5 separate regions of the Homo sapiens genome follow, and all the other regions are linked to region 3. The links are contacts of gene promoters, found by promoter capture Hi-C in human tissues and cell types (Jung and others, 2019). All regions are on one chromosome and are shown on one strand. The core of a region is centred on a gene start or on the middle of the fragment in contact, and the rest is flanking DNA. Distances in the headings are between cores, read along the strand shown. Region 1 overlaps RAP1GDS1 (Rap1 GTPase-GDP dissociation stimulator 1). Region 2 has its middle 53 kb from the start of RAP1GDS1. Region 3 holds the start of METAP1 (methionyl aminopeptidase 1). Region 4 overlaps H2AZ1-DT (H2AZ1 divergent transcript). Region 5 overlaps RAP1GDS1 (Rap1 GTPase-GDP dissociation stimulator 1).

Region 1 (2,910 bases), core at 349-2,848, 610 kb after region 3:
AAAAAAAAAAAAGCCAACATTCATTAATATTGACAATATTGGAGGTTTAAAACAATACATTTATACATTTCTTCCTAGTCGCTAACAAATAAAAAACTAGAAAAGATAATTCTAAGGTTCTTTCTGGGTTCTGAAAATAAAAATTGTCTCTACATGGCAAAATTTCCCTTTTGTAAAAGTTTTAAATATAAATGGCAAAATTATATGTGTGAGATTGATGTAAAACAGAAGCAACAACAAAAAAATGCCAAAGCAAAAATCAACAGATAGTAAAAATATTTTATTATTCTTAAGAAACTTATTCATTTACTGTTCTCAATATAATGACAACTAGAGTGATTATGCCTTAATCTAGTAGATAATTTTTCCCCATATTTACTACAGGTTAATTATTTGTTACAGATCAACTTTTGTTACAATGAATACTGCTACAAAAAAATTCTATAGATATGTTTATTCTGATTAAAGAAAACTCTACGCTTTCATCTCAGAAAAAAACTGGTCTTTTAAGTTAAATGTCTTTTTTTTTTTTAAAGAGGACTACTGCCAGCTGTTGCTTAAGCAGCATTTATTAAGAGAAACCAATTCAGTCTCTGCTTTCATACAGCACTGCTGAGATAAAGACCACATCTACAGTAAGTATAAATTTAAGCCTGAATTTTTGTACAGCAAGTTAAGCTAATGCCAAATTAATTTATATTCCAACGTGTATCTTACAAACATATGCTTAAAAACATAGAAATCCCTTCTTTTACAAAAGAATATATTAGCTTAAAAAAAACTTTTCTAGTTACCATGGGGCATTATTGTAATTTAGTTTTTACAGTTTAAAATTGCACAGAAGTTATTTGCAAGGCAAAAATTCTGTTAACAAGATACATCTGCATATTCAAAAGCATTTCACTTTCTAGTTTTTCAAGTAGGACTTAAAAATTTTTTAGTAAATAAAACAATATAGGCAGTACAGTATTAACTGGATTTTACTTATAGTTAAAAAAACAGGATTAATAATCTTCATAAAAGTTAATTTACACATGATGCTTTTCTGGGTTCAGCGCCTCTCTGAATGGACTTTGTAAATGGCCTAAATTAGACACGCAAATACAGATATCTGGCTAAAACCTATTATTTACCTCTGATTTTAGCCTCAGCTTTTGAAAGGCCAAACAGCTCAATGCTTACTTCAACATCATTTCTGGAACCTAAAAATTTGTGCATGATCAATGATTATGTGCCTCATATCATCATATTTCAACTAGTATAGGAACACTTACAGTAAAGACCTGGTCTTTCAGACTTGTTACTATCTGAATATTTATTTTTAAATATAGGTAAGCATTTCATGTAAAGAGAAAATTTGCCTATATGCTTTATATGTTGAAATTCTATCAGTTGAAATGTAAATGCATATTATTATATTAAAATGCACCAATAATTAATGGTGATATACATCTTGTAAGGATGAAATCAAAATCAGAAAACCAATTTTTCCACTTCAAATTTTCACAATGAGAAAAATCTTGAAAATAATATTTGATAACGGCTATGATTAATCTTCAATCCAGACATAAAGCAAATAAAAATGAGAAAACCATACTAAAGAATGAGCAACTCCAAACATATTTTGCCCTTTCACTGCCCTCAACTAAGTGGGCATCTATGTGGTATTATGATATTAAATGCATTATCATAATCGCAGTAGCAATCTAGAAGCTAACAATGCTGAGAAAGTATTATTCCTGTAATAATATAATGCCAAATTTTAAGTATTAGACTGCTAAAATTACTGACAAAAAGACTATAATAATTTTATTTTTCTAAGATAAAATTTCAGCTTCTTACATTCAGAAGTTCATTCTCTAATGGCCAAAGCTGAATATAAATGCCAATACTTGATCATGTGGAATTAGACCAAAATGTGTATCTGATACACCTCTACTGAAAATCAAGCTCTCAGCCTGTTCATTAAGTAACAGCATTATCATAGAAATAGTCTAGGAAGATTATCACTAAAAGCTAACCTGGTCTAATTGGTCAAATTTAATAGGTTGAATTAGCAAGAGGCACCAGACTAACTAACTGCTCTATTCTTTAGTGAAACAATTTGTTTAAAATAACACTTGTGGTAGAACTTTATGAAAGCAACCTTTTTCAGCAAACTGACTAGAAAGCTGTTGGACAAACAGCAAAAATTCAGGAATTTTTAAAAAAGAGAACAACAGTAAATAAAGAACAACAGTTAGTATAATAAAGAAAGAATAAAAAAGCCTAAGTACTTTTCAGCTGCCCAATAAGTCTTCAACACACTTCATTTAACTCACTGGAGTAAAAAGTGACAAACTGGGCTTCAAAAGATGTTAACTTAAATGTACATCTCCCATGTCTTCATAAATAGAGGAAAAATAAAATACATGTAAGGTAGTATGATGGAAAATTAGTTTCATTAAAAAAGACAGTATCAGAACAAGGATCTCTGAGAAAGAAGAAAAACTTTAAAAAAGATAATAAATTGCAAAGATACAATTTTACCTTTTACATATTGTTTTGTTCTTTTTCCTTAGAGTAAGGTAAAAATAATTTACTATTTAGGAAATATATAAATTATTAACTAGCTTGTAACCACAGTAAGTAAAGTTTAAAAATAGTTCTTCACTCATGTGAAGCAAATCATTTTTCTAAACATCTAACACATCTAGGAAATGCTCTTTTTCACCCGTAATAAAGTATTGTAATACTGAAACATAAGGATAAACATGCAGCTCAGGCCAACATGCTTTTTAGTTTTTAATTATGAACTAAGAAATTGTTGCTATTGACTGAAAGTAGCAGCTAAGATTAATTACACATTAAATAATCTTTAATATGGGGAGAAGTAGTATAGGCCTTTTTTAAACAAGTGAATTTAAACAA
Region 2 (2,899 bases), core at 278-2,777, 790 kb after region 3:
GGTGAGAGAAAGAGACCCTGTCTCAAAAACAAAAACAAAAACAAACACAAAAACAAAAACAAAAACGTGACAACTACCACCAATTCTAAATTGGATGTAATGCAGTTATTGAGCATCTTAATGAAGTCTATTTCCATAAAATATTACAGTAGCATTTCCTGCATGACAGTGTTGCCTGTATTGGGCAGTTTTATGAAAGTTTTATCTTACTCCCTTTTATGGAAGGCCAGGTTTGGGTGCTAGTTAAGCAGACAGATGGACTACGGGTTAGATTATGCAATGGTTACCTGAAGTAGGAGGAACAGGAGCCAGAGTGAAAGCAAGTGGAGTCTCAGAGAACTGAAAATAAAAACCAAGAAAACCAAATTTGTTATCCTTTTCAAGAGATAATCCTAGGCCAGGAATAGGAGACAGGCCTGGGGACAAAAGTTCAGGGCCACTAGTGTAGGGATCACTTATATGATGGCACTGGTATTCAGGAAGATTCTCTCGTTTTAATTTAAATTATTAATTTTATAGAAAATATGCACATGATAAAAAATTAAACAAGTACATAGAGCTATGAAATGAAATGTGAAGTCCCCCACCCCCGTCTCACTTCTACTTCCACTCTCCAAATCATTGTTACTAGTTTCTTACATATCCTCCCAGGAATTTTCTATCCACATGGAAATATGGAATTTTTACTTTAAAAATTATTATATTTATGATGAAGTTATATTAAAGTGTAAATGTAAGTCAGGTAATACCTCAACAAACAAACAAAACAAAAAACAGAACAAAACAAAAAAAAACCCACGAAAAGTTCCCCAGTAAAAATCTACAAAATAAGCATAGTCCTGAGAATCAAAATCCAAACAAAATGGAGCATTCATTACTAGTCATTTTTTATTATGGTCAATGAAAATTATAGGGAACAAACCAGTTAATTGAAACCAGATAGAAAGACATTGAATATCCTTAAAGCAAACATGCATGTGCCTTTTAAATTCTTTTAAATAACAATGGAATCATGCTGTTAGCTGCTTTTGTACCAAGCTTTATTTTCTTTAACAATATTTTTTTTGGAGAATTCCATATCAGCCTATATAGATTTATCTTAAAGTTCTTGATTACTGAACCATTTCTATTATACAGATTTGCTGTAATTTCTACAACCAGTTCAATATTAGTGAACACTGAGCTAATTGCAATTTTTGCTTTCAAACAATGTTGCAATAAATATTTTTTTTTTGCACATTTGTGTGAGTGTATCTGTATAAGTTCCTTTTAAATGTAATTACTGTATCAATTTTTTTTTTTTTAAGACAGGGTCCTGCTCTGTCACCTGGGCTGGAATGCAGTGGCTGGATCTCGGCTCACTGCAACCTCCACCTCCTGGGCTCAAATGATCCTCCTACCTTGGCCTCCCAAAGTGCTGGGATTACAGGCATGAACCTCTGCGCCCTGCTGGCCTACTGTGTCCATTTTAACACTTAAAATTTTAAATTCTAACAGGCCTGGTGTGGTGGCTCATGCCTGTAATCTCAACACTTGGGAGGCCTAGGTGGGAGGATTTCTTAAACCCAGGAGGTCAAGACCAGCCTAGGCAACATAGTGAGACCCTGTCTCTACAGAAAATAAAAAATTAGCCAGGTATGGTGTTGCATGCCTATGGTCCCAGCTACTCAGGAGGCTAAGGTGGAAGGATTGCTTGAGCCCAGGAGGTTGCAGCTGCAGTGAGCCATGATCACACCACTGCATTCCAGCCTGAGCTGGAGTGAGACCCTGTTTCAAAGAAAAAAAAATTGTCTGGGCCTGGGGTGGCTGATGCCATTAATGCCAGCACTTTTGGTCGCCAAGGTCAGGGGGATGGTTTGAGGCCAGGAATTTGAGACTAGCCTGGGCAACATAGTGAAACCCTCTCTCTACAAAAAATACAAAAATTAGCCAGGCATGGTGGCACATGACTATAGTTCCAGCTACTTGGGAGGCTGAGGTAGGAGAACCACCTGAACCCGGAGAAGTTGAGGCTGCAGTGAGCCGTGATCACACTACTGCACTCCAGCATTGGTGACGGAGTGAGACCTTGTCAATAACAACAAAAAAACTAGATAGATGATAGATGATAGATAGATAGATAGAGAGAGAGAGAGAGAGAGAGAGAGAGATAGAGAGAGAGATAGATATTGACAATTTGTCCTTCAAAGAAATTGTACCAATTTACATCCATTAATGCAGAGGAATGTGCCTGTTTCCCGAAAGTTTCCCCATGACTGGGTATTTCAACTTCCAATTCTTTGCTAATGTCCTAAGTGAGAAAGGTGGTATATCAATTTTTAAAAGTCTTTCGAATTAATTGCAACTGGTTGATTATTTTTTAATAAGATTCTCAGCTATTTTTATTCCTTTTTTAAAATAGAGGAATAAGATAGACCACATCCATCTTCTCTCAAAACCCTCCTATGGTTTTCCATTTTATCCAAAGTAATGTTCATAGTTCTTACTGTGTTCTACAAGACCCTAAAAGACTGGCTCCTGACGTCCTCTCTGACCTTATCTTTCAATCCCACTCCTTTTCCCTCTGCTCCAACTATACTGGTTTTCTCACTATTCATCAAGCATGTCAGACATGTTCATGTCTCAGGTTCTTTGCTTTTGATGTTCCCTCCGCCTGGAATTCTTTTCCCTCTGTAGCAGCGTGGCTCACTCACTTCAGCTCACTGCTTGGTGCCAACTTTTCAGAGAGCTCTTACCTTACCATCCCACTGAAAGTTGCCTATGCCTCCCTCATTCTGTCTCTTCTCACCCACCTTTATTCTTCTTCATAACACTCTACCTGAAATGTTATCCATATATCAGTGGTTGTCAACAGGGGAGAGAGGTATTTGGCAATATCTAAAAATATGTTTGGTTTTCA
Region 3 (2,811 bases), core at 244-2,743:
TATATCTTTACGTTTTTATGTTTTATGTTGGAAAACACTTTTATTATTTGTATTGTGTTCATATATCTGCCTTCATTCTTATTCATATTTTTATTTATGGCAGAGTTAAATCGTACTAGAATCCTTTAAAAAATAAAGGACTTTACATTATAACAGCATTTCACGTTCCTTGGATAATCTGGGTCTCAGAAGAAGCTTGTGAAACTTACAAAGAAAGCTATAATCATCCCCTCTGTACAGTGTAACACTGGAACTCAGAAAGATTAAGTAACTTTACTAATTCAAGATCGCACAATAACTGGCAAGGGCAGGGCCCCAATCAGGCCTTCTCTTTATTCCGGCTCTCCTCCCCACAGGACGCTACCAATTTAATATTTGAATATTCATGTGCCTCTCTTCACTAAACCTGGACTGTAACTAAGAGCCATACTATTGCCGCCCAGCCCTCATCCTGGGTCTCGAAATGCAGCAGCAACACTAGTACTCTTCAGTAAACAGAAACACGAGCACACGCTTCAGTCTGGACCCCATTCAACGCTGGGTTTGCTCTACTGCACAAAACTTAAAATACACTACAGCATTCACGCCTAACCCTCAATGGAACTGTCCTTTTCACTCTGGGAAATTCAGTCACAGGTGACTCATCCCGTTAGCTTACAGTTTTGTAAATTAATAATTTTATATACCGAAAGAAAAGAATGAATTACACAGACCTCTCCCTTCCCCACCCCCAAAGTTGCTTAAGTGTCAAAGCACGGTAGTAAAGCACAAAGAAGTGGGGCTGGAGCTAGCTAGCGTTCCTCCTCTCTGCGACTCCGACGGTCCTCGGGCCACCCATCTCTCAGAGCCCGGCAGGTAGCTTCAGCCCCCCACCCCGCAGGGACCCGACGGACGGCCCGGCGCCTCCAGCGCCCAGACCCGAGCCCCGCCGGTGCTGCGGATGTGGAGGCTCGCGACGCTCGGGCTGCCCTCCTTCCCGGCGCCGCTACCTGCCTCCGGCAGCCCGCACACCTGGCGGCCCCCGCCCCAGCGCGGGGAACCGGCCCCAGAACGCGGAGGTCTAGCGCGGCCACGCGACCCCGCACAGCCCGCTTCCGCCCCAGCCCACATGGCCGCGGCGGGTGGCGCCCCCGCCCCCGCGTGAGCCCAGCGCGGTTCCCGAGGACCCAGGGACCCCAGGAGGCAGGAGGGGGCGGTGGCGACGCGGGTGGGGGGAGGAGGAAACGCGGCCGGGGGGAAGAGGAGGAGCGCGTCCCGACTCGCCGCAAGGGCGGGAGGAGCCAGCAGGGGAGAAGCGAGGAGGGGTCCCGCAGCGGCGGCATATCCGCGGGGCAGCGGGCGCCTACCTGCGAGCAGAAGTACGAGCCCTGGATGCCCAGCTTGATGCAAGTGGGACACTGGAGCTTGGCCTCACTGCTGCAGCCGTCTGTCTCGCACACCCGCGTCTCCACGGCCGCCATGCTGCCTGCCCGCTGGAAGAGCGCCTCACCGAGGAAGAGGCGGCGGCGGGAGGGAGGAACTGCCGGGCGGAGGGGAGGGGAGAGAGACCGAGTCGGGGGAGGAGCTGGGCCCGCCGCTGGCCTGGGCGCGGGAGGGGGAGGAGCCAGGGCCGGCCGGGACCACGCAGCGCGCCCCGCCCCGGCCCCGCCCCCGCCCCGCGCGCGCAGCTGGTGCCCCGCCCCGCCGGCTTCGCCCCGCCCCCCGCCGGCGGTGCCTGCGTGCCCAAGCCTCCCGGCGGCGCGCACATTGGGGCTGTAAGGGAGCTCGGCAGGGCCCCCCCATTCGGCGCCTTCGGGCGTCGGCCAGCAGAGAACGCGACCTGCCGGCGCCTGACGGTGAGGAGCCGCCCTCTCGCGGCGCACTCTCTGTGCCTACAGTCAGATAAGACAGTCGTCTTCACTGACGAACACCCAGGAGCCCTGATCATCCCCGACACCCGCAGGAGGCTAGAGAGGGCGCTGCGCTCCTCTGCGTTGGATTCCCCCGCCGCTCCTTGGAGAACAGTCCCTTGGGTTAAGTTCTGTTTCTCACTGACATTGTCGGGTCTGAGGCCTAAGGACCACCGCTCATTCACAGAAAGGAGAGCCATAGAGCTGTCAACGGGACGGTGGGCTGGGATTCACATCTGCCCTCCCTCCTGCCAGACTTTTTTTTTCCACACACCACCACCTCCCCTTCAAAACCGATAGTGCTAGTAATAGTAACACAACTGTCAGGTATTCAATACAAATAATTTTTTTGTATAATCCCAGTTGATTGCTTCAGCAGTAAATAGGGGAGAATTGTGCTGATCCTGAAATGTCAGAGTCGAAAGAAGCTGTAAAGGCCTTCCCCTGCGAACCTGTTGCTTCAATCTTTTCAGCTGTATTCCAGGTCGGTTGTGTTGTAACTCATGCTTGAGTGCCTCCTTGTCACTAGGGAAGAGCGAAAAACTAACATTTACTGATCACAAAAGGCTGTGAACTTTGTTATTGTATTTTTTTAACTTCTCCGTACTTAATACACCAGAAAAGCTCATACTACTTTTATTTTTAAGAACTTTGTTTTGGCTAGGAGCGGTGGCTGACGCCTGTAATCAATCCCAGCACTTTGAGAGGCCAGGGCATCCAGGGCACCAAGGCCAGCGGATTCTTTGAGGCCAGGAGTTCGAGACCAGGGTGGAAATATGGCAAAACCCCGTCTCTACAAAAACTAAAACTAAAAACTAAAAAATTAGCCGGGCATGGTGGCAGGCGCCTGTAGTCCCAGCTACTGAGGAGGCTGAGCTGGGAGGATCTGTTGAACCTGAGAAGTCAAGGATATGGTAAGCTA
Region 4 (3,083 bases), core at 165-2,664, 970 kb before region 3:
AACATACTGCTTGCAGTTTTATTATAATCTAATATATATAATCTAAATATGACCTGCAGGTACTACTAGAATTATTAAGTAAAAATAGAATTATTGCAGATATTCTGTTAGGTCAAATTTTATTTTATTACGTCAGAGTTAGAAAGATTCTATGGGACAAGGAACAGTAGTTCACACCTGTAATCCCAGGAATTTGGGAGGCTGAGGCGGGAGGATCACTTGAGCCCAGGAGTTCAAGACCAGCCTGGGAAACATAGTGGGACTCCATTTCTACAAAAAATAAGAAATAAAAAAATTATTCGAGTGTGGCGGCACACACCTGTAGTCCCAGCTACTCAGGAGGCTGAAGTGGGAGGATCACTAGAGCATGGGAGGTCAAGGCTGCAGTGAGATATGATTGTGCCACTGCACTCCAGCCTGGGTGACAGTGAGACCCAGTCTCTAAGAAATGAAATCAAATTTAATAAATAAAATAAAATAAAAAGATTCTAACAGAACTATTAGAAAATAGTAGTTTTATATCAGGACCATTATATTAGAATCTTAGAGATGCAAATCTAATAATTAGAGAGACTATATATTGGTAATGCTAAAATAAGTTAACTTGGTGATCAAGATGCCAGCTCTGATCTTGACCCAGGTGCTTTTGGGGCTCCTGGGCTCCCAAAGAATACCAATATTCTTAAATGTGAATTATCCTAGATTCTTAGACAACAAGTCTAAGACAGACTTTATTATTTAAAATATTTGTATATTGTTTTATTACCACACCTCTTTCTTTCCCAGAGTATCTCTTCTATATCCAGCAAATTTTCAACGGCTTCCTTGCAAGGTATTTGTTCCCTATTTTGAAGCTTTCCCAGTTAAGTGAAACCTAACTTCTCAGTAATATATGCAGTTTCAATACAGGGCATCTGGAAGCTCATCAGCAAGATGTGCTTCTGCCAGAGATGAATGAAGAGGGGGGAGAATGGAACCAAGAGGCTGGAGAGTATGATTGGGGGAAAAATTATAAAGGGGCCAGGGGAAGATATAATGGTTGACCATAGATAGAGGCTTTTGGAAAGAGTGAAGATAGCTGTGAACTTGAGAAGAAATTTAGGAAAAGAAAAGAGATGTGTAAAAAGCAGATTTTCTGAAATTTGCCATATGATTTGCTATTTGAACTCACTCTTCTTCACTTTCTAACCTTAATGTGAGTTTGATTTTCAGGTTGTAGTCTTTTCTAATGCTTACCTGTCAAGGTGAAATAAATAGTGGACCCTCTGTATCCGTGGATTCCACATCCATGGATTCAACCAACAGTGGATCAAAAATATTTGGAAAACAAATTGTGTTTGTACTGAATGTCTTTCCTGTCATTATTTCCTAAACAATACAGTGTATCAACTATTTATATTGTATTAGGTATTATAAGTAATCTAGAGATTAAAGTACACAGGAGTATGTGCATAGGTTATATGCAAATACCACAACATTTAATATCAGCGACTTGAGCATCTGATGATTTTGGTATCCACCGGGGTTCGTAGAACCAATCTCCAGAGATAACCAGAGACAACTGTACTTAACTATAAAGGTAAAAAATTTTCAGTCATCTACTATCTGAAATCATCTCTACTTAAAAGTTGTACATGGAAATATGTGGAGAAAGAGGAGGGCTTAGGACCAAGCCCTGGGAAAGTGCCATCTTGAAGTCAGGTAGTGAAGAGAAAATAAATGAAAGAAAGCAATAAAAGGAGAAGAGAAGCAACCATATGGTATCCTGGAAGTCAAGAAATGGCAGTATCTGGTGGAAAGTGTGGTCATGCTGCTGAGAGGTAAAAAGAAGGAAGAAAACTGACCCTTGGGTTTGGCAACATGGCAATTAACAGTGACAAGAACCATTTGGGAGGCCTGATGGGAATGAAAGTCAAATATAAGTGGTTGAAGAGAGATTTGGAGGTGAAAAAGTGACAACCACCTGCAAAGAAAAATCCCATGAAAAGGTTTCTGTGAAAGGGAGCAAAGACAATGTGGCAGCTGGAAGGAGGCCTATGGGAAGCAGAGGAACTCTTTCTTAGCTGTAGTGGGGGAAAAGCAGAAGATGGGTGCAGATGCAGGGAGAATTGTATAACACTGGTAGGAAGAGCAGATTCTCATGGAATGAGGTCATCACTGAAATTGAGGGCAGGGAGTGGGTTAGATCACTGATTCTTAAAACATAGCTGTGCATTGAAGTCATCCAGCAGGTTTTAAATACTGTTTATGCTCAAATCTCACTCCCAAGAGACTCTGATTTAATTGGTATGGGGTGAATCCTACCATTCACGAGTTTCAAAAGCTCCCCACTTTCCACCTCCCCTCCATTCTCGGCCCCAGGATTCTGATATGCACCAAATTTTGAGAAATGCCAGTTAATAATTTTTGAGGATACAGAAGATACTAGGCACCAACTAGTTGCATAGATCCAGACTGCTACGTAGGAAAAATAAAATAAAAGTCATTTCTTGCTTTCAAGGCACTGTAAATCTGTAGGCTATTCAAAAATCTAAAATCATTCCAGAAAATATGAAAGTAATTTAGGAGCATTAGCAATTTAAAGTATATTAAAGAAAGCAGGGTACAAACCATATTCAATGATGCAGAATCAAGGGGAATAAGAGATCAATTTTGGAGATGGTGGCTCAGGGAATGTTCACTAAAGGAGAGTATTGAGCCATATTTTGAAGAAGTAAAGTGCAAAAATTGACAGCTATCTGAAGCACATTTCAGATAGAGGAAGCAACAAAAGCTTTGTAAACAAAAGCAGGTGATCAGGGAAACTATGGAGAAAACACATTGCTGAGCAACTGAAGGATAGGAGTGGGAGAGAGAATTTTCACTCTATACCACTTTTTTTAGCCTTTTAAATGTTGAAACATTGACAAGTTTAGCCTTTTCAAGAATCAATCAATTAATAAATAATGGCTTTTTAAATGGGAAAAGAATCATCTAGATTGAGACCATTAAAAAATGAAAAAATGAGAGTAAAGAGATACAGATGAGCCCATTATAAAAGTATTGAAAGTACTAGCAGTGCCCACAGGAATATAATCTATTTT
Region 5 (3,255 bases), core at 524-3,023, 700 kb after region 3:
AACGAGGCAGGGGAAGACAGCTTACTTCTTCAGGGAGAGAGTTTAAAGCTGTATGGCACACTTTATGGTCCCCCCGGCAACACAAAATGGTCTTCATCCTCAAAATGGAATAAAATGGATAGAATTTTTATTACAAATAGAATGTTAATTTTTCTTGCCTTTGGGACTTTAATTTAAACTAATAGTTTCTCTTGCAAGGTGATTTAGATGCCACATTCTCCAAAGACAATTCCTGTCTTAATGTTTGGGGATGAAAATAGGTGGCCTATTGTTTTACATTTCCAAATAACCATAAAATAGAGTAACCATACTACAATCAAATAAGCATTTACTGAGAATCTTCTAACTATAATCTGAATCAAAAGAGACCAAAATAAACAGAAGCTGATTTCTTGGCTGGTAGCCTTCACACATTTACTAAAAACATTTTAAAACTGAGATCTGATGTATTTATATGAGTGAATGAATGACTTTATATTAATTTAGATCATAGATTTACACAAAATGCTTGCTTAAACAAAATGTTTTCATAAAATCTAGTAAGTATTCAAATCTTCTTGTCTCTTAAGATAGACACATATAGTATAAACGTTACAGAGAGAAATACTGCCAATGGTAAAAAAAGAAAACCACTCTAAAGCCATACATCAAAGTAAAAATTCTAATTTCAGATTACAGTCATTTGTAATATGCAATTCAAATGCACTAAATCACACAGTGTAAAAATTTCAAAAGCATTATTTTGTTCCTTTCAGAGATAACCTTTCCAGTAACAGGGTAATAGACTGTAAAATAAAATTTTGTTTATATTTCCATTACATACATTACCATCTTATATTTGTACAGAATGGAGAAATCTTTCTTTCCTGATCAGGTGCAATTATGGTACAGTTGTTATTTTTAGTTAAAACACCTGACACTAAGGAAGAATTATGAAACGAGAAGCTCTCTGTGTTTTTGTTGTTGTTGTTGTTGTTGTTGTTGTTTAAAAAGCAAGTACAGATTCTTCTAAGTTAAATGTTTTATAATTTTACATTTAGGAGGACAGAAGTAGCAATGGCTCAATCACCTTATTCAAGGAAGAACTGTAGAAAATTAACATCTCACTAATATATTTTACTTTTTCTTGTTAAAAAGGCATATGCTGACTTTATAAAGTGTATCAATAAATGCCTATAAAATACATATATCACTTTATAGTTCAAGAAAAACAGGCTTATCCACTTTAATAAAAATTTAGAGCTATTTTTATTAAAGAAAAAACAAAAATTTAAAACACAATGTTAAAACCTAGCTTCTTGGAATGATTTCACATTACATGAACTCAGCAAAAAGCTTCACTTTATTCAGATTACAATTTTTTATTTTGTAAATCAAGAGTTCAAATCCAAACTCTGGCTTCTTCCAGAGCAAGGCAAATAAGCTTATTAATCTGTTACCTCATCCTTTAAATGGTGATAATAATACCTACCTCATGGGACTATAGGAAAGATTAGATAGTGGCTATAATCCCCAGCCCAGTGCTAAACATACAGTAAGTGATCCAATGACAGGTGTCAAAGACTGAACATCTGCATGAACTCCTTTTTCCAATTCTTCTTTGTCAGTAGTCTTAGGCTTGAGGGCATTTATAAATTTTGTTTCAGATTGTTAACAAGACATTCCTTTTGTTCCCTTCCTGGGGCATCATTAGTTAAATTGGTGAGAGTTTATTGTTTTAATACCTTGTGGTTACGTGGCCTTAACATTTTGTGATACACAATTTCACAAGACCATTTTCAACAAAAGGTACAGTGAATAAGTCCGCAATGGGCTTATTCTAATGTAAGCTAATTTAATCTAATAATTATGAACTTCTCAGTGTTTCTTAAATCTGTTCTTTTAAAAGCTATACACTTTTTACTCCCTTTTTTCTTCATTTCCCTTCAACTTCATCTCTTTGTCTTCCAGTCTTCCTAGGAGACAAATGGGCAACCTCTACAGATGACCAAGAATATGACCCTTCATGTCCTTCAGTATCTAAAGCAAATGGTCTATTTAAAAGTTTACTGTCTAACAGAGAAAAAAAGTGTTGCTGAAAACAGACGAAGGTTATAATAAAACAACTGTTCAAAAAAATATACCTGAGATACTCAATTTACTTAGGTTAATTATGTTACTGTGTAAAGCTGCCTATACAGGCACATGTAAAAAAAAATCAGGTCATCGTGTGGTTCTTCCTAGTTTCTAGACCAGTGCTATCCATAAGAATTTTCTGTGATCATGGGAATATTTTATATCTGTGATCCCCAAGAGAGTGGTCATCTGCCAAATATAACTACTGAGAAGTGAGACTAAGGAACTTCCTTTTACATTTTATTTACTTGTATTAAATTTAAATAGCCACATGTGTCCACTAAAATGGATAGCAGGCTTAGACGTTCTCCTTTCCTGTCCTTTTTCTTTACCATTTTGAGCCTTATCTGGATGCTCTTATTGAACTCCTTGTTTCAAATCTCTTCCTGTTATCTCTATGATTAAACAGCATGACAGTTGTAATCTAAAATAATTACTGAAAAATAATTTTAAAAGCTAGCTCTAAAATGTGCTTTTTTGATGAAAAGTACTGCAATCAATTATTTTAGATTTTTCTAATCAAGGTTTACTAAAAAATAAAAAAAACATATATCAATAAGTGTTGAAACCTTACAATTAAAACCTTAACAATATATACGTTCCCCTCCATTCTTTGTCAGCTACATAATTAGTTTCAGGATAGGACAAGAGCATAATTAAAAACAAGTACAGAAAAAACCACAGCACAACCAAGCAGAATTAAGATAACAAATGAAAATCACTCTATACTGATCTATTAATGGTGATAATACAGAAATTAGTGACTAGAAATAGGATAAATAAAATGCAACACAATGGTCAATGAAGAACTGTGCAGTTTCTATCTCTAGCATTATTTATCACATCAAAGATAAAATCCTACCCCAATTTCAAAAGATTTTTGATGACTTCTAATGGTTCCTTCCAAATTTATCTATGCATACATATTATTTTAAGGTACAATTATTTTAAAATATGATAAGATTCCAAAAAAATGTTAAGTGTTTTAAGCTCCCCCTCTGTTTCTCCTCTCTCTCCCTCCCCACTCTCCCCACATATAAAACAATCTATTTTTAAAGCACAGATGTAGGTGCTAAGAAAAACAACTACGATGCTTGACTGTTAGAAATGAAACAATGGCCTCTCTCTGGGACTGGTATT

Evidence for each region. Contacts are between HindIII fragments. The study calls those that stand out against the background at their distance.
Region 1: a contact is called between a fragment that was not itself captured here and the fragment with the promoter of METAP1 in region 3, in 1 of the 25 tissues and cell types used here (dorsolateral prefrontal cortex).
Region 2: a contact is called between a fragment that was not itself captured here and the fragment with the promoter of METAP1 in region 3, in 1 of the 25 tissues and cell types used here (hippocampus).
Region 4: a fragment that was not itself captured here is called in contact with the fragment with the promoter of METAP1 in region 3 in 1 of the 25 tissues and cell types used here (spleen).
Region 5: a fragment that was not itself captured here is called in contact with the fragment with the promoter of METAP1 in region 3 in 1 of the 25 tissues and cell types used here (hippocampus).

What each region holds. Positions count from the first base shown.
Region 1 is chr4:98,383,678-98,386,587 of GRCh38, reverse strand. The region is part of intron 5 of RAP1GDS1 (Rap1 GTPase-GDP dissociation stimulator 1); the gene reads right to left. Among named protein-coding and RNA genes, the nearest start is that of RAP1GDS1, 120 kb to the right of the region's middle. The HindIII fragment of the contact is 5,575 bases long and covers 1-2,910 here.
Region 2 is chr4:98,206,678-98,209,576 of GRCh38, reverse strand. No RefSeq gene overlaps it. Among named protein-coding and RNA genes, the nearest start is that of RAP1GDS1, 53 kb to the left of the region's middle. The HindIII fragment of the contact is 5,877 bases long and covers 1-2,899 here.
Region 3 is chr4:98,994,403-98,997,213 of GRCh38, reverse strand. It overlaps METAP1 (methionyl aminopeptidase 1), which reads right to left and starts at 1,493. Exons shown (of 11, transcript NM_015143.3): 1 at 1,347-1,493. The coding sequence starts at 1,460. RefSeq lists enhancers at 298-1,080, 2,002-2,051 and silencers at 822-1,281, 1,442-1,761. The HindIII fragment of the contact is 14,445 bases long and covers 1-2,811 here.
Region 4 is chr4:99,967,595-99,970,677 of GRCh38, reverse strand. The region is part of intron 1 of H2AZ1-DT (H2AZ1 divergent transcript); the gene reads right to left. Among named protein-coding and RNA genes, the nearest start is that of H2AZ1-DT, 19 kb to the right of the region's middle. The HindIII fragment of the contact is 4,750 bases long and covers 1-3,083 here.
Region 5 is chr4:98,293,761-98,297,015 of GRCh38, reverse strand. The region is part of intron 2 of RAP1GDS1 (Rap1 GTPase-GDP dissociation stimulator 1); the gene reads right to left. Among named protein-coding and RNA genes, the nearest start is that of RAP1GDS1, 34 kb to the right of the region's middle. The HindIII fragment of the contact is 3,026 bases long and covers 261-3,255 here.